Linked DNA regions of Homo sapiens: regions 2, 3 and 4 are each linked to region 1. The links are contacts of gene promoters, found by promoter capture Hi-C in blood cells and fetal thymus (Javierre and others, 2016). All regions are on one chromosome and are shown on one strand. The core of a region is centred on a gene start or on the middle of the fragment in contact, and the rest is flanking DNA. Distances in the headings are between cores, read along the strand shown.

Region 1 (4,605 bases), core at 1,439-3,938:
AGGGAGTAGGATAGGAAAGTGAGGTGGGTGACACAGGATTAAGAACAAAGGGCTTGAACAGAGAGTAGGGCACAAATGAAAGGCATAGTATTAACTAGCATTTGAAGAGGGCTTTAAAATTGGCAAAGCTCTTTATTATACAATCTTTGTTTAAATTGTGTTCCTTCTCACTGTGCATCTTAGGGTTGGACAGTTTTACACGTGGGCTCTTTTTATCTGTAAAATTCCCCATTTTACAGATAAAGGGAATGAGGAACTGGCTGGCTGAGGGTCCTGCTTTTGACCTCCTACCAAGAACATCAAAGTCAGGACTTGAAAACAGGTCCACTTCTCTAAATCCTTTATCTCTGACTCCATTTCCTGATGCTGCCACCTCTGAAATCAAACAGTTACCAATTAACTATGTGCTGGAGACACATCATATCATTTCTCCGGGCCTAACTGGTAAAAATAGATGTTTGGCCTAGAACAATACATTCAATCATCTGTAATCTTAATCAAAATCACCAATATTTGTTTAATGTATTATGTTGCAGTCTGAAAGGATAGGCAAACAGCTGTAACAAAAGAATGTAGGGTTGAACTCTAATCATGATATTGTTAAACTTTGTGAAATCAGAATTTTTAAAAAAATTAAATGAAATAGAAAATATCAGAATATGTTTCACATAGAGGGTAAGTACTATTTTGAGCAACTTTTGTTTTATAGATATATAAACATCTACTATACATGTATATACATAATAGATGTAGATATCTATTTATCTAGAGAGAAGAATGTAGATGTATTTATGTACATTCTGGGTCCTCACCTAAAATATTTTTCTGACTCTGAGTCACCAAAAAAAAGTTTGGAAGCCACTTGAATAAGTGTAACTGCCATCTCTGCATTCCAGTAGAACTTAAACAAATATTTCTTTGAATGAATTGTGGTTTCAGGTAGGTGTTGGAGAAAAGAAGGGAAGATCAAGATTGGGGTGATAGATGCAAAAGAATGTATTGAAAAAGAAAAAAAAACTGAGAAAGAGAAAGATAACCCTGTGGTTTCCTCATTCCATCGACTCTCCCATAATCCCACTGGCTTCCGTCTATCTGCACACATTCATCAAACCCCACTAGACCAAGTTCCTTTAAGATGAAGACCTTGTTGGATCCTTCATTGTAACTCAACGACATAGGGGGCTATTCATAAATATTTATCTAATAAGTAGATTAAAATTTATATTTCCTGAGGTCTAGTTTTTAGGTGGTATCTCAGTTAAAGTTTTAACTTTTTAAAGATTTAAGATACTATCTCACACAACAGTGGCTACATTTTGTTTGTTTGTTTTGAGATGGAGTCTTGCTCTGTCACCCAGGCTGGAGTGCAGTGGTATGATCTCGGCTCACTGCAAACTCTGCCTCCCAGGTTCATGTGATTCTCCTGCCTCAGTCTCCTGAGTAGCTGGGATTACAGGTGCATGCCACCACGCCTAGCTAATTTTTGTATTTTTAGTAGTGACGGGGTTTCGCCATGTTGGTCAGGCTGGTCTCGAACTCCTGACCTCGTGATCCGCTCCCCTTGGCTTCCCAAAGTGCTGGGATTACAAGCGTGAGCCACCATGCCCGGCCAAGTGGCTACATTTTAATAGAAGATTCCTTAAGATCAAAAAGCTTCAATATTGAATTCTCCAGTCTCCAGTAGTGTCAGGCGTCACAGGAATCAATGAGAGAAGGATTTGTTGGACAGGTGGGTCTCTGTAACTTCTCTTAAATCATACCAGCATGGAAGCCAGTTACTCCCAAGACTAGATGTGCCCATTTTTTTTTGGTTGGAGAGCTAAGGGACCAGGCCAATCGTTTATCTGTGCAATGATTCAATGAGCGCACACGGAGTACTACTTAGTGTCGTACGCTGTACTTGGCACATGTACTTTCCTAGTGAATTGTGAAGTCCATCTTGAATTATTGAATTATTTGAATTATTTTCAAATAATTGAAAATTATTGAGTTATTTTCAGTTCAAACAGTTGCTTGCAAGAGAAAGGTGGAAAAACAAATATTTGGGGTTTGTAAATTTTGGGGCCATGTACATCTTAGTGTTTGCAATGAAAGCATTAGTTTGAAAATTATTTTACTTTGTTCTGTATTTTAAAATTACTTTTCAAGGTTTATGTTTTTTTCTAAATTCAAAATTCACATTTCAAAAGATTCTAATTTCTTAGCATATCAAGTTAAGTGGATTAAAATAAAATAACTTTTTAAGAATTTCTTGAGCAGCATGTCATTAAAAATACATAATATACATGTATACATGATAAAACAATATTAAGATCATTTTTATACTTAAAATGCAATTAATAGAAATCAATGTTCCAAGGCGGATTCTGATTTTTTGTGGAATTTTGACTTCTTTGTATTGTTAGAACAATTTAAAAGGATATGTTCTTCTGTTTTCCCTTTCCCTCCCACCTTCTTTTATTTTCTCAATATATTTAATAAACTATTTTCATACCAAAGCTCCATTCCAGATAGGACAAGCAATTCGAACACTCCATCCTGTGAACCAAGGCTTGTAAGAAAAGACAGGAAAGAAAGCAATAACTCCAGAGCATACACTGAGGATCCCCAGAGTAACAAGAATCCGGCCAGCAGCCTGGTAGAGGCCCTTCATTTTCCTTGGTGGCTTGAGGCCTTGGTCTCAAAGATGTTTTGTTACCAAAACATGAGCGTATGACAGGCCTCAGTAAATAGAAGTTTCTTAGAGACAGTAGCCACGACACATACGAACTGTTGATCTACTTGGAAACAAGATTCTATTTGTTTTACCAAAGATGAAATGTACTCAAATAGTCCTTGGCATAAATTTGACACAATAAATTCTAATAACAATTTATTTAAGAGAAAGAGAGAAAAAAATTATCCCTTGCTTTGGATTGCTGCCTTGATTCCCTTCATTCTGCCCTGTCCTGGGGAGTGACCACTTCCTGGCTTAATCAGATTCAAAGGCTTGCTGACTGAGCTAATTGTTTCTCAACTCAACCTGCCTAGTGGTTCCAGCATAAAGCCAACATCCTTTGTGTACAATAGATCCACATTCCCAGCACAATTTCCCACAAAACAAAGTAAAAATAAGCACCCTGGTCACTTTTCATTATATTTAATTTAAATGATTTCAACCCAAAGCAAGACCTTCACCTCCTTTCAAAGTTTAATTCCACTACAATTATTTTTGATAAAGATTTTTGATATGGATTCATTCCCAAATGGGCATGAACTTTATTATGGAGTTTTGCATTGTTTTCACTAAACCAGTTTCACCTTATTTTACTATTAATTTAATTTTCAATTAAAGTGTGATGATGGAAATGTATGCAGTTATAAAATAAAATAAACTTTGAGGAGCAATTCATCAGTTGAATAAAATGCTGATCCCCATTCATTCTTGAATCATAATTCTAATTTGAGATATTGAACTTAGGTACATTTAGGCAGTTACAAGTCATCTCTTACTTTTTCATGCATTTGAGAAAATGGTGTTATTTGATTTTGACTGATTGGATATATGTGGATGTCTGTTCAAAAAAATATCTTAAAAACACAGGTCAGTTTCTGAAGCCATCTGAATAATTTTCCTATTTAACATTAATACATTATTCCTTTTTACTGAAATAAAAGGATGAAAAATAATTTTATGAATGCAAATGAAGTGGTTTAGGACATCGATTTTGAGTCAGATGGAGCTGTGATCCGATTCTGGTTCCACTCTCTACCAGGTTTGTGTCCTTGAGTAAGGGCAAGTTACTTAACTTCTCTAGGTCTATTTATTCGTATGCGAAATGGGAATAAAAGTTAGTGTTTATCTTTAATGGATTTGGTTGAGAGGATTAAATGAGCTAAAACCATAAATGCCTAGCCCAGAGTTTAGCATAACGAAGATGTTCAGAAAGTTACTCTTGTTAAATTGGGATGTTCCACCTTTGGGGTCCTTCCATCGTGGGACAAAGGTGCACTTATTGTGGTTTTTTTTTAAATTCATCACCTTAAAAACATCATGTTTAACTCTTCCTGAACAATTTGGTAAAAACTCCCAAAGGACCCTCCCATATGTGGTGGAAAGAGAAGCTTCTCTCTGATTCTCTGCTTTTTTTCTTTCTGCCTTTCTGTCTTTAATAGCCATTCCACAGTTTGACCCAGATTTTGAAGCAGTTGCATTCCTGGATATACAGAATCCAGGAAACCAACTCATGCTTTCTGGTACAGCTGCTATTTCTTATCTCCTCTCAACACTGTGGGCTATATTCTCTGATTTTTTTTTTCTAACACCACTAGATAAATTTCACAAGGGCAGAGACCTTGCAAGTCTTATACATCCCTTAAATGTATGAGATATTCCCAGCGTCTACAACCTTGTCTGCATCAGAGCAGATACATATAGTAATAAGTATTTGTTGAATTAGTTGATTAATACATTAAACTTTCCCCTTTGTATTTGGGCTCTCCTGTCCCCCTGAAGCTGCACAAGTATAGAGCCATGTGAATCCACCACCGTCAATGAGTGTTGATGCTAGTTTGTTCCACTGATATGGGGGGGGAAGGGGTCGAGAGTGAAGAAAGACTTGTTTG
Region 2 (4,605 bases), core at 1,185-3,684, 240 kb before region 1:
CATTTACTCGGTATCTTATGCAGCCGGCACGGTGCAGACCCTAGATACATAGTTTTCCACTTATGGCTGACTTTGTAATTGAGCTATTCAAGAGATTTTTAGATAATGAATCGACACTGAGATTTTCAAACCTCCATGCCTTGATCTTCACAAGACAGCCTTATTAGAATCTTGATTTTTTTAATGTTCCAAGAGTCTTCTGTCAGAGATATTAAGATAGTGCTATGACTGAAATTATATTAATGGCAAAAATCATAATTACTTTTGTACCCACCCAATAATTTAAAATCTTCATACTGCTGAGGGCTTAATACACCCTACATTCGATTTGTGCATGGTATGTGTTGTGCCGTCCCCTACCTTCGATCAACTGATGACTCAGTACTGATCTTCCCAGGGAAATCCTCCAAACCTCTGCGGACAGCTGTGCCACATTGCATCCTGTTTCCAACATTCACTAAGGAAATTTCCTCATCCCTAATGAATTCTTACTGTTTTTTTCTAGGGTTTAAGAAAATCCTATGGTAAAATATCCTGCCCCTAGTTTTATACTGTACCCCTATAACACACATTTTAAAAGATGTTTTCCTACACTCTTGATTCAAATATTTAATTTGGAAACAAGAATTAGTAAAGTAATAATAATTTGTGCTGAACTAATTTTTACTTTTACTTTGCAAATTAAATAATTAATAATTTGTGAACTAAATTTTACTTTGTCCTATGGGTATTAGTTGCTCACTATGAATTTTGAGAGCTCACAGGACATTGAAAATCCCATTTATCCAAAACTAATTCTGTGAAATTCAATACCATGACAAGTCAGTGCTCTTGTCAATGCCTTTTTTGTCCCGTAGAAAGCTAATTTATCACTTAAAACAGAACCCTGAATATTATTTGGCTATTGTCTGTAAATTTTAAAATCTTACAGTTGAATAAATGAGTAAAAATATTACTATTGTTATAGCTTTTGTACAAGCTAATCATTTTAAGCATCACACATTCCACAGGAGAATACTGTCAACACAAGTAATCATAAAATCATAATGGCTACCTTTTGTAGAATTTATTTAAAATGTGGTTTTTAAATGATCAATTGCATTTCTTTTTTAGATTTCACTATGTAAAATTTATCTTTTTATTTATAAGTGTAACACTGGCACCTACTTTTAAATCAATTTATGAAACCATTCTCTTTTGTAGGATAAGTATTGTCATTGAAATATACATCTTATAAAATACAGTTTAAAGAAATGTAATAGCTATGTACAAAACATTTCAAACATTTATATTCAGCAAATCAATTGCATTTCAAAATATAATTACGAAGGTACAGACTTGTGTGATTTGATGTATGGGCATTACATTTAATTTAAAACATACTTTACATGGGATTCATTCTAGCACGAGAGACACTGACTGAAACCCACATGATACTGAGGAAAGATGACCGTGGTGGCCATCTGGAGATTTGGGTTTCAGTTCTGTTATGTATGCTAGCTGCAGGAGTTAGGTTTCTCAGTCTACATTTATTTGCAACATAAAAAGGTTGGACTAGACTACCTGCAAATTCCCTTCTAATATGAACTTCTGTGGTACCAGTACAGCGGTTTTGCTAATTTAGGATTCAAGTTGTAAATAAAGGCCTACTTGGAAGAAATTTTCCCTAGAAAGTACCTTGTTTAGCCACATAACTTTATAGAAAAATTACAATAGCTGTACAACACTCATTTAGGTCACACCTTGAATGATAAGCATTTTTAGGCTGTCAGCTTTTCCAGGAACAAGATGTGGCAGGCAATTTCCTGGTTCTAAGCATATGACTTACTCTGAAAAAAACGAATGGCTGAGGTGACGAATGATAAAAGCTTCAAGATACATGAACCAAAGTGGTATATACTACATTCTCATCTCTTGCTAATGTGGACTATCTTCTCTTGCATATTTCTAACTATTTAGAGATCTCCAATTATTTGGAGATCTAGAGCTAGGGCTCTCAAATTCTCAATCAGCCTTCACGTGCTACAGAAAGATCACAAATGGAGAAGCATTGAATTCTTATAGCCCCTGGCAAATACCAAAGATTCCAAATCATATTTGTACATCAGCATTAATTTTTCCCCAGTGAGGGTTTGATTTCATTTCCAGCATGTTACAACCTATACAAGTTTTAAAAATGCAACATCAGGATTTAAAATTTGCAATGAAATTTGAAAAAAAAATTTTTTTTAATCAGCAGCACCTCTGAGATTATCTATTCCATCCCTTATTTTTCAGAGGTCACACCACTGATTAATGGCAGGATAAGGTCTCTTGCTTCTCAAATCACTTCAAATTTCTAAGCATATTTTCCACCTAAGTTTACAAAGGAAATCTAACCAAGTTATAAGCTCTTTTAACGCCCACACACATATGCACTCATTCTTACTTATCAAATTCCAAAATGTTAATTATCCCACTGTCTTTCCCTATTACATCAGCCTCTATGTGAGAAGTCCCAAACCTGGCAAGTAGTACGGCTCACAGAGAAAACAAGTATTATCTATGTGAATAACAGCAAGTCTCTAAAAGACCAACAGCAGAAGAAAAAGATGGCTTCGGTCAAGCTGATAGTTTATAATATAGGCAAGGTAAGTTATGCGCCTTAACTAGAAGTACATTACCTAAAAATAGGAAATCAATTCTTTTCAAAAAAGGTATATTTATTTTCTAAACAAAAGAAAGATGACTCAAAATTATCCTTCTCATTCCGTTTGGATTCTACACTGTTTTGAGCATGCCACTTCCTTCCATCTCCGGGAGTGGCTTGGAAGAAATGGAACTATAAACTCTGGTAAAAGTGAGGAAAAGCAAGAAACCATGTGAAGCCAGGAACTCACCACCTGTGGTGTCTGTTCTTTAATAAATCTATCCAGGTGAAAATTTCTAAGGTATGTGACACAGGAAAAATACTCTGCTACATGCTAATACATCTTCTGTAGAAAACTTCCATCAAGCTTGAGAAACTCTGAGTTGAAGAGCTAGAAGTTCTTTAACACTACACTTCAAAGAACTTTTAATATACACTGAGAATCTCCCCAAGGCCGAACGTTTTTGAACACACAAACTTTTTAAGATCTAATGTTCACTAGAGAATGCCTTTTGGATAACTCTGATCTAACAACTTAATTCTTTTCAATTCTCCTAATGAGATTATGTGAAATCCCAATTTTATAAAGATTATATGAAAATAAGAAATGTTATTAGCATTTCACTTACATAGTTCCTTTAAATAAGAACTTAGGCCAATTTTTACATAAAGAGTCACATAATCAAATAGGCAATTCATGAGTCTAAAGGACTAATTGTACAATCTAATTTATCCATATAATAACAAAACACAAGTCACATTTCCACATTAAACATGGCTTGAAATTGCCAATTTTCCAATGTACCCTTGGAAGCATATGCCATTTGTTCTTTATATTAAAAGGGAAGCAGAGCTTTTTTTTTTTTAAAGATCAGGTCTTGCTCTGTCATCCAGGCTGAAGTGCAGTGGCAGGATCATGGCTCACTACAGCCTCTACCTCCTGAGCTCAAGCAAACCTCCTACCTTAGCCTCCCAAGTAGCTGGGACTACAGGTGTGTGCCACCATACCCAGCTAATTTTTAATTTATTGTAGACACGTCATCTCTTTATGTTGCCCAGGCCAGTCTCAAACTTCTGGCCTCAAGTGATCCTCCTACCTCAGTCTCCTAAAGTGCTGGGAATACAGGTGTGAACCACCATGCCTGGCCCAGAGCTTAATTGTTTAGGTCTTAGACAACAAATCTCAAGCATTCATTTCTCCTGGATGAAATATCACTTTTTACAAGTAATATTTTTTAAATCTTTTGCAATTTTTGCCACCTTTACAAACAGAAAAATAAAAGCTCTCTAGAATAGAGACTATGTATACACCTATAGAGCCCTTCTAATACTGTATCTGAGAAACAAGCAATGTGGCCATGCACTTTTAACATCCGAATCCATTATGCATTAATAGTTCAACAAAGGAAGCACTTTTCCCCAGACTCACATTCCATGCTACCACTTCCACAGTCAAAGCACTGAGGTTAATTCCTTTGAATTGCTATCTCTTCTCTTCTGCATACCATCAGCAATCATAACCATAATCATAAAAAGTCTAGACCTCAAAGAAGCAGAGGTCTTAGATAAACACATCAAGGGGCTCCAAGTTTCAATTGCCTAACAAGGGCCATGGAGGCAATGTCGATGAGTGAAGTGGTTGACCTTTCCTTTATTTCCTTTCAAAAAACATGGCTGAATATTTCTTCATATTTAAAAATTAAAGAATGTAAAAGATGGGAAAAAGCAACTGACAACTCAGCTTCGGTATCAAGAGTTAACAGAGAGTCAGGGGGACTGTGGTAAACTAGAGAGCAAATGCCCTTTCTTAACAGTGAGCTGCTATTTAGTTCAAGACCTTCACTAACCATATAGGAATGCAGGCCATGTTGTCAGATCTTTCAGTTTCTAAAGAAAAAAACAAAACAAACAAACCAAAAAAGCTAGAAATCTTATTTTACGTGAAATCCCTTAGTTCTTAAATGTTGCTTGCAAAG
Region 3 (4,605 bases), core at 562-3,061, 220 kb before region 1:
ATGACAAAAGTGTATAAGACAAAATAGAATCCCCTGAAAAGAGCAGCAGGGGCTACAGAATGGGATCCACCAGGATGAGCCTGAAGAGTTGGGAAAGGTAGACCGAAAGCAAGGCAGTCGCCCTGTGACTGAGGTGGAGGAGTGGGGAGGTATGACAGGCAGTAGAGACACAGGGAGGCCATGTACAGCCCAGAGGGAGAAGATGATGATGGCCTGAACGTTCTCTGCTCTCAGGAGTCATAAGTATTCTACCATTAATTCCCAGAGGAAGTCTCTTCAAAACAGACAGGAGAAGGAAACACCTATAATAAGTCTTGCAGGTTAAGTGGCAGAGAAACAAACTGGTTTCCCTAGGTCTACAAAAGAGCCTGTTCTGTAGTACTAACTCTTGGACCACAAATCCCTAACAAGATGCAAACTTCTGAAGATTCTTAATGGGCCTGTTAAGTAATTTTTTTTTCAAGTGTGATGACATTTTGCTCCACTGATCCAGGTGCAAAGACTGTACCAAAAACCCACCAGAGACTTTGCTTCGTATAGGAAACTCTTGATGTAATTGTAGCTCTATGACTCACGGTAATTATCTTTTTAAAGAAACATAAAACACTAAGAAAGTGTACTTTTATTTTATGATCTTCTATAAAATAACAGCATTAGTATTTCATTCATAAGTGTAATAAAGTAACATCAAACAAGAAAAAAAGCAGAGTCCGACTCTGGTGCCTTAGTGAACGCAGAAAAGCCTCACAGATCAGATTTACAGTAAGCCAGACAAACTCATCTCCACACCACTTTCATCCTTCTCATCAAAAAGGTAGTAAGACTTCAAAAAGCACATCAATCAGGCCATTCTCGCTGTTTAAGACACAACCCCAAAAGAACTCAAACTAATTACAGCGCCACATTATATACAGAAAAATACCACTGCTGTCTGAATAATATCTAAACAGTGGAAATTTAAAAGGACAAAATTAGGAAGCAAAATAATAAAAGCCTAGAGGAGGATTTTGATAGCTCATGGAAGACTGGGTGAGGGTAGGAGACTGCGGACCAAGTCTTATATCTGCACAGGAGAAAGAACCAAGTTAGAAACCACTCTACATAAAGCAAGGAGGAAGAGCTGCAATCTGAGAAAAGGGTGATCTGGTACAAGACCCCTAAATCCACAATAAGAGAATATTGTGTATGTCTCAAAAAGAGAGTATTGTATATGTCTGCTACTGAACAACAGCAACAAAAATTTTTACACTTTTCAGTAAAAGTGCTTCAAAAGAGCTGCCTATGTTCACACACTCGTGCAACCAATTAAAAGTATAATAATCAAAATTAGTTCATTTTCAATGTATAGACCAGAATCTCAAAACAGATAAAAATTCCTTTCTGAAGTATGCAACTTAGTGTCACTTCTCCATGTGTAGCATTTTCTTCGAAAACACAAAACTTTGTTAATGTTCTTCTAACTCCCAAGTTACTCAGTAACCACAAGAGTAACTGAAAGCAGTCTGGGAACAGCAGCACGTAGATCCAGGTCTTAATCTGAGCCTTGTGACCAAGCTTTACTAAATGGCTCAACCCAGACAAGTCCTGAGTTTCCCAGAGGAAAATGAGCTTTATTTCCTGAAGCCTGTAGCCACCTCTGTCCTGAAAGGACAGGAAATTGTAGTCATTTTCGCCAAAACTATATGTAAACAGGCTGCAGAAGGGAGTTACCTAGATATTGCCTTGGGCAGATATTACCTCCCAAAGTCTCAGTTTTCTCATCAGGAAAATAGGAATCACATCGTTCCCCTTCCAGGGTTGATATGAAGGTACACAAGATCATATGTGGAATTTAAGATGCTCTAATGCCTAAAATGGCAAAACTTGGTGTTAGTATCATTATCGCCTCACTGCTCATCTCCCCAGGCCCACCTCCCACCCATATTGAACACCCAAACGTCATCATTACCCCTAGCAACCACAGAATCATGGGAAGACAGAACAGATGAAGTTTGGTAAGCTACTAAATAACAGTTGTGGGCTAACAGCCAGGTTATCAGACAAGCAAACGCAACCCAAATGAAGCTTCTTACCTGCATTTCTACATCAGCTACAATGGTCTTGGTGTATCTCTACATTCCAAGCCTTCATGCATCCTTTGTAAATACTAAGAATCAGGGGTATTTAGGTTGACAAAGTAACTACATTAACCACATAATCATACCTCTACATCATTATCACCAAGAACAACAGTATTCCAAATATTAGACTCATAACTCTAAAGCAACAATTTCCTCCCCTCACTCTCTGGGAAAAAAGAAAGAAAGAAAAACTTTGCAGAGGAATAAAGTGGGAAGCCAGTGTTCTAATATAAACATGACAAGCCCAATTCTATCACTGCAATATACTTTCTGACTTCAGTACAAAAATCTTTTCTGACCATCTGGAGCTACTCCAGGCATGAGGCCAAAACTTTGTAATTCCTTTTCAAAGTAAATGACAGATCAGTAACTGCCACGTTGCTAATGCACAGCCAAAGGGAGCACCTCATATCCTATTCAATGCTCCCTGGAGTTTTACACATATAGTAAAAACAAAGTGCTTCCAAATAAACCTGCCCACTTTCCAATATTCCAAACTGAACAGCGATCCTGTCACTTTTGAACAAGGCGGCATTTCTTCGGGTGTGATCCTATTACCCTATTTCACACACAGGAAGTAGGACTTCAAGTTTCACTAAAAAGTCATATCTACACTAAAATGAATCCTATGTATGTCCACTACTATTTCAGTTCTCCAGAAATGGCACATAGGAGTCTACCAAAAATTTTTTTTCTTTTGAGTCGGAGTCTAGCTCTGTCACCCAGGCTGGAGTGCAGTGGCACGATCTCAGCTCACTGCAACCTCCGCCTCCCAGGTTCAAGCAATTCTCCTGCCTCAGACTCCTGAGTAGCTGGGACTACAGGTGCATGCCACCATGCCCGGCTAATTTTTATATTTTTAGTAGAGATGGGGTTTCACCATGTTGGTCAGGCTGGTCTCGAACTCCTGACCTCATGATCCGTCCGCCTCAGACTCCCAAAGTGCTGGGATTACAGGCGTGAGCCACCGCACCAGGCCTCTACCAGAAATTTTAAGAGGCTGTTCTCTGCAGTGCCTGAGATGCCCATAAGGTTGCAATAAACATGGGGTCACATATATACAGGGCAACAGAGGTGAACTCAGGATCAATGGGGACCCATTAAGTTGGTGGACACTTGTTTTTAAACCCCACTGACTAGCAGAATCACTTTCTTCATTCATCCAACACACCAAATGGAGAGCCTACTATGCGCCAGGTACTGCAGTGATGACGAATGAAATCAAATCTCCCAACACCTTTGCCAAAAATATAAATTTGAAGAGCCCAAAACCAGTTTCATGTAATATGCCACTGATAATAAGAGCCATTTGAAAGCTCAGAAGCTAAAATTTGATAATCTTCCCCTGGAGCATATTGAGCAGAAAGATGTCAGCCAGCAATGGCTATGGACTTCCTACATTTCAAAGAAATGAAAGTTATCTCTGAAGTCACACTTTGCATTGGGGAGTTGTCTTACCCTTTTAAGTAAAACATTTTAAAACTGAACAACCTGAAAATTCATCTGTTAGCCAACCGTTTCTTACAAAGACAAGTTAAAAAGAGTTTTACAGATGAATAAAAGATGAGTAAACAGTAGCTGGCCACTAATCACAAAATTAAGCAGCAGATAGATTATAAATAAAAATATAAAACGGGTCATTATGGGGCTGACTTAGTCCATCTGGTCTGCTTTAACAAAATACCTTAGCCTGGGTAATTACAAACAACAGAAATTCATTTCTTACAGTTCTCGGGGTTGGTAAGTCCAAAATCAAGGCACCAACAAATCAGATGTCTGGTGAGGGCTCCTTTCCTGGTTCACAGATGGTGCCTTCTTGCTGTGTCCTCACATGGTGGAGGGGCAATCAGGCTCCCTTAGGCTGTCTATCTAATCTATCTATCTATTTTAAGAGAGAGTCTTGCTATGTTGTCCAGGCTGGAGTGCAGGGGTTATTCACTCACTGCAGCCTCAAACTCCTGGCCTCAAGCAATCTTCTCACGGCCACAGCCTTCCATATAGCTGGAACTATAGATTCGCACCACCACACCTGGCCCTTAAGCTTCTTTTATAAGGGCGTGAATGCCATTCATGAGGGATCCACCCTCATGATGTAACTGTCTCCTAAAGGCCCCACCTCTTAACACCATCAACTTGGGGGTTAGATTTCAACATATAAATAAATTTGGTGAGGGGAGAGAGACACAAACATTCAGACCACAGCAGGGTCTCATCCTGATGAAAAACTGTCCCTAAGGATAAATTCACAAAATCAGAGTAAGAGAGCTAGAAAAGGCATTAGAGATGGTCCTACTCTGATTTTACCCAGCTCCTCTGTTAGAGACTCTATTTTTTTCAGGCTGCCCTCAAAACATCATGTGATCATTACTAAAATAATGGCATCTGAATGTCCTGAGCCAACTCCGAATGGAACCCCTTGTGTCCTATCTGAGAACAGGAAAGAGATCAGCAATCATATCAGACAGTCACAGACAATTCAGAATCC
Region 4 (4,605 bases), core at 721-3,220, 130 kb before region 1:
TTTCCCAGATGGGTGGTATTCACCCCCACCTGACAGCCTATCTGCTATTTGAGTCAGAAGGACTTAGGCTTTGGAAGTTAATATAAATGTAAACATATCAATTTATTATTTTCAAAAATATTACAACCATTACACTGGCATCTTCTCATAGGGTTTGAAGTAATTAAGGGATTTCCAGTCCTATAAGACAGGCCTATAGTTTGAAAGAGCACTGAACTCGGAGTCATAAAATGTACACTTAGTCTCACTTCTCCCTTTTGGTAGCTGACAGCCGGGAGCAAGTTATAAAACTCTCTGAGCCTTGCTTGTGAATGGGAGGTAATACTACTTACCTCACAAAGTTCTCAAATAAGAAGGTTCTATAAATAGGGTAAAGAGAGTGAAGCATCCTTGAACCACACATGGGCTGACTCCTTTCAGAGAAACGAGAGTGTCCCAGTCCCTAGAGGCTGCTGTGGTTTCCAGTAGGAGAGTCAGAGGAACCAGCGAATCCCCATGGACCAATGTAATGGGCCAAGATTCCCTTAACAGGACAATCCATGCAAGCCTTGGTTTACTTCTTCACAGAGGCAGGAGTTTTCCTAGCTACAAGATGACTACTAGGCTTTATTTTGGTGAGAACTCTATATTCCTTCTATTTTGTTGCCTTTCCTGGTCTTTGGCCAAGGTATGACTCGTGGGACAACCATAACATTTTCTCCCATTTTACTCCTCTGTTCTGGATTTCCTTTTCCCACTGCTCCTCTCCTCCTAAGCCTTGGCATTTTCCTTTTGGAAAGTGATCATCTCCCTCCCTGTACTTCTGTCTGCACTTTTACTCCACTCCCTTGACATCCGGCTCACTCGTGAACTTGGTGCTTCCCCTCTAGTCTTCTCAAATTGTCTTTCCATCAAAACATGGAGGCAAAACTCTTCCACCCGCAGCTGTCTACATTTTTTTCTGTTCCTGGGCTGGGAGGCACAGCTGGAGAAAATCACCGAACTTTCTGGAAGGGTATCCTACAAATGAACTCCCACATGCCCTGTGCCATCAGCACTGCCTGATGCTCCTGTTTTCTTGGTCAGCTCTCTCCCTTCCATCTCCACAGCATCGATTATGAGACTTTTCCTCATTGAACTGAAGCCATCTATTTCTTTCCTTCATACTTCTACCTCACCCCTTACCTTCAAATAACTTTGCCTGCTCCTTCACAAAAAATTAGAAGCCACAGATGAGAACACACACAATTTCCTGCCATGTCTTTCACCATCTTACCTGTCCCTATACCTGCACTTACCTTCCCCTAAGACTAACCCTTCCATCTAAACTTAGGCTCTCATCACCTTGGGCCTTCTCATGTACTTCCTTCCGGCATGTATCCCCACTCTTCTACATTTCAACCTCAAAATTTTCACACGATCCTTCCCATTTTTAAGTATCCTCAAGTCTCTTTCTTTTTAAAAAATCCTCCTAACTCTTCTTTTCTCCCGCTTGCCCTACACTTTTCTCCTATCACACTCCTCCCCCTCAGAGCCCGAGTTCTTGAAATAACTGTCCACATTCTCTGTGGCTTCCTCATGTCCCTTTCCTCTCAACTGACAGCAATCTGCTTCTGCCCACACCTTTCCTCAGAAACTGCTCTCATTTGGTCCCAAGCCACCTCCCTATTGCTACATCTAATAAACAGTTCTCATTTCTTATCTGACTTGAGCTCTCAACATTTGACGCTGTTTACCACTTCCTTCTGTGCTTGGAATGCTCTCTTCATTTGCCTTCTATTAAGCCACATTCTCCAACTTTCCCTCCTCCATCTCTGGCTGCTCCTTCTCAGTCTCCTTTCCGACAACTTTTCCTTTGCCCTTCTATTTAACTCAGTGTGACCTCTCTGAGTTTGACCCTCTTCTATTCTCCGGACACATTCTCTCCCTTGGTGATCTTGTTCATTCTTGTAGCTCCAACGATTTATTGCTGATGACCCCTGAACTTGTGCCAATGGCCCAGAAGGCTGTCCTGAGCTTCAGACTTAGGTTTCGGATCGCTTGGATGTTTACATCTAGATTTCCCACAGGCACCTCTACTCAATTGGACTGCAATTAAGTTCTTGTCTCCATTTCCCAGCTAAAATCTGCTCCTTTTGCTGGGCATCTCCTGACCCTTCTCCCTCCCTGACACACTTGTCCAATTGGTACCCAAGTCCTGAAGATTCCACCTCCCCAAGAGAGGTCTCACCTCCGAGGGCATAACTCCACTTGGACCATCACTAGCTTTGATCATTTCTTCTCTTCGGATCACCACTGCTGCCTCCAAACAGGTCTCTTGGTTTTCAGTTTTCACATCAAATCCAAGGGGATCTTTCTGAATCTCTAATTATGTCCCGTCCGTTCACCCTGCTTAAAATTCTTCATCAATCCCCTCTTGTCCTCAGGATGTAAGGCTTTCTCACAGTCTGGTCTCTCCCACCTGTGTCTTGCCAGTGCCACCCCCCACCTATCCTTCAACTACACTGAGTTATTTGTAGTTCTGTAAGATTGCTTGCTATGTCTTGCCTCTGCACTTTTGCACATGCTTTCTCCTGTTTTGCTTTGTTTTTCCCCCCCATTTTTTGAGTTAACTCCTATTAATCACTTCTTCCACAATGTCTTTGATGACCTTCATGGAACATAGTTACATGTTGCTCCCATCCTCCATTGTGTTACCCCGTTTGCCCCTGATACAGCACTGATTGTGCTTTCATTGTCCATCTACCCTTAAACATTAGGAACCTTTCAGAAAGAGACCCTGTTTTCTTTGTAGTTTTAACTTTAGAGTCTGGAACAGTACATGGTGCATATTGGGAGCTCAATAAAGACTTATTTATTTATTTATTTATTTATTCTGTGACAGAGTCTGGCTCTGTGGCCAAGGCTGGAGTGCAGTGGCACAATCTCGGCTCACTGCAACCTCCGCCTCCTGGGTTCAAGCAATTCTCCTGCCTCAGCCTCCCAAGTAGCTGTGATTACAGGTGTTCGCCACCAGGCCTGGCTAATTTTTGTATTTTTAGTAGAGACGAGGTTTAGAACTGGTCTAGAACTCCTGACCTCAGGTGATCTGCCTGCCTCAGGTTTTCAAAGTGCTGGGATTACAGGTGTGAACCACTGCACCCAGCCTCAATAAATACTTATTAAATGAAGAAATGAATGATGCTATTAATATGTATCATGTGACACTTATAAATATTATTATAGTTGAATTTGAGCTTGAGATGAGGGGACTGTTAGGGAGATGGATGAATTTAAAAATCATAAAGAACCAAAGAAGGCCAGAAGCAGTGGCTCACGCCACTTAGAGAAGTCACTGACCTTGGTGTCACTATTTCAAAGATGATATTAAAGACAAGGGATGGGCATAGAAGGAAGAAATAATTGCTTTCTGGTTTTCTTTTCACAATACAGGTGAGAAAAAAAAGTAAAACATTCAAAAAGAAGAGGACAAAATACTCTAAAAAATGCAGTAGTTTCCTAGGTTGAAGTTTCAGAAATATTTAATGTTTAGAATTCTCTATGTTTATCTAGGTGGAGATCTTGAAACAAACAGGCTTATTACTTTGTTCTGCAGGTTAGGAAAAAACACAAATTGCTGGGCATAATGATGCATGCCTGTAATCCCAGCACTATGGGAGGTTGAGGGGGGAGGATGGCTTGAGGCAAGGAGTTTGAGACCACCCTGGACAGCATAGCAAGACCCCATTTCTACAAAAATTAAAAAATTAGCTTGATGTGGTGCTGTGCACCTGTAGTTCTAGGTACTTTGGAGGGTTAGGTAGGAAGAATGCTTGAACACAGAAGATTGAGACTTAAGTGAGCCATGATCATATTCCAGCTGCGTAACAGAATGAGACCCCATTGGTAAAAAAATTAAAATAAAAAAAATTCAATGAAATAAAAACTAAATCAATATATTTTCTACTGACAACATCCCTCACCTGCCTTATTTGTTTAAGAGTGTACTGTTACTAGTAACACCCACACACTAGTTAATGAAACACTATTATGCAAGAATCTAAGGAATCTAAGAATCTAATGGAAAAACAGCCTGATATTAACAAATAAATATAAACGACTCTTCTGAGTTGCAGCCACACATACTTTCCACTGCACCTCAGTTACCCAACAGATTTAATTTCTATCTGGTTTGTCTTCAGAACTGGGGAGGAGAAATCCTGGATTTGGCAGGCGCTGAGCTTGGAACCCACACTCACTCCAGCAGTGTTATTGGTTCAGTCCTTGAGGCCAGTAACACTTCCAGCCCCAGGGAAACCTTGGTTCCAAACTTTTCCATCATTCCACAAAGGAGTTCTTTCTGCAAGAGGTTTTGGCTGTTTTTGAAGCTTTCTCTAATTCTGTCTTTTAAAAAGCAGTTTGTAGGGTTGGAACATTGCAGGGTTTTTTCCTCCCTCTTCACCCAGATGTTTCTGGTTCTCAGGATGTACACCTGTGATTCTGGGTCACTTGGGAGAAATGTCTGAGTTTTATTTACAGCAAAGAATGTGATCCTCACATGCAAATGTTTAAAATGGTCATTTTGTTCTCAGGGACCAACTGCAAGACCTGCTAGGAAAGTACTTGTAGAAAATGTTAAGGTCAAAA

The links. Contacts are between HindIII fragments. The CHiCAGO score rates a contact against its expected background, and 5 or more counts as called.
Region 2: a contact is called between a fragment that was not itself captured here and the fragment with the promoter of TMEM212 in region 1, in 1 of 17 cell types (M0 macrophages). The highest score is 6.2, in M0 macrophages.
Region 3: a contact is called between a fragment that was not itself captured here and the fragment with the promoter of TMEM212 in region 1, in 4 of 17 cell types (endothelial precursors, M2 macrophages, M0 macrophages and 1 more). The highest score is 7.2, in endothelial precursors.
Region 4: a fragment that was not itself captured here is called in contact with the fragment with the promoter of TMEM212 in region 1 in 1 of 17 cell types (M0 macrophages); the score reaches 5.6 in M0 macrophages.

The regions. Positions count from the first base shown.
Region 1 is chr3:171,841,432-171,846,036 of GRCh38, reverse strand. TMEM212 (transmembrane protein 212) reads right to left here and starts at 2,688. Exons shown (of 5, transcript NM_001164436.2): 1 at 2,495-2,688. The coding sequence starts at 2,653. The HindIII fragment of the contact is 2,451 bases long and covers 1,656-4,106 here.
Region 2 is chr3:172,085,251-172,089,855 of GRCh38, reverse strand. The region is part of intron 1 of FNDC3B (fibronectin type III domain containing 3B); the gene reads right to left. Among named protein-coding and RNA genes, the nearest start is that of FNDC3B, 48 kb to the right of the region's middle. The HindIII fragment of the contact is 1,128 bases long and covers 1,871-2,998 here.
Region 3 is chr3:172,063,546-172,068,150 of GRCh38, reverse strand. The region is part of intron 1 of FNDC3B (fibronectin type III domain containing 3B); the gene reads right to left. Among named protein-coding and RNA genes, the nearest start is that of FNDC3B, 26 kb to the right of the region's middle. The HindIII fragment of the contact is 510 bases long and covers 1,557-2,066 here.
Region 4 is chr3:171,972,659-171,977,263 of GRCh38, reverse strand. The region is part of intron 3 of LOC105374217 (a long non-coding RNA gene); the gene reads right to left. Among named protein-coding and RNA genes, the nearest start is that of FNDC3B, 65 kb to the left of the region's middle. The HindIII fragment of the contact is 4,757 bases long and covers 1-4,348 here.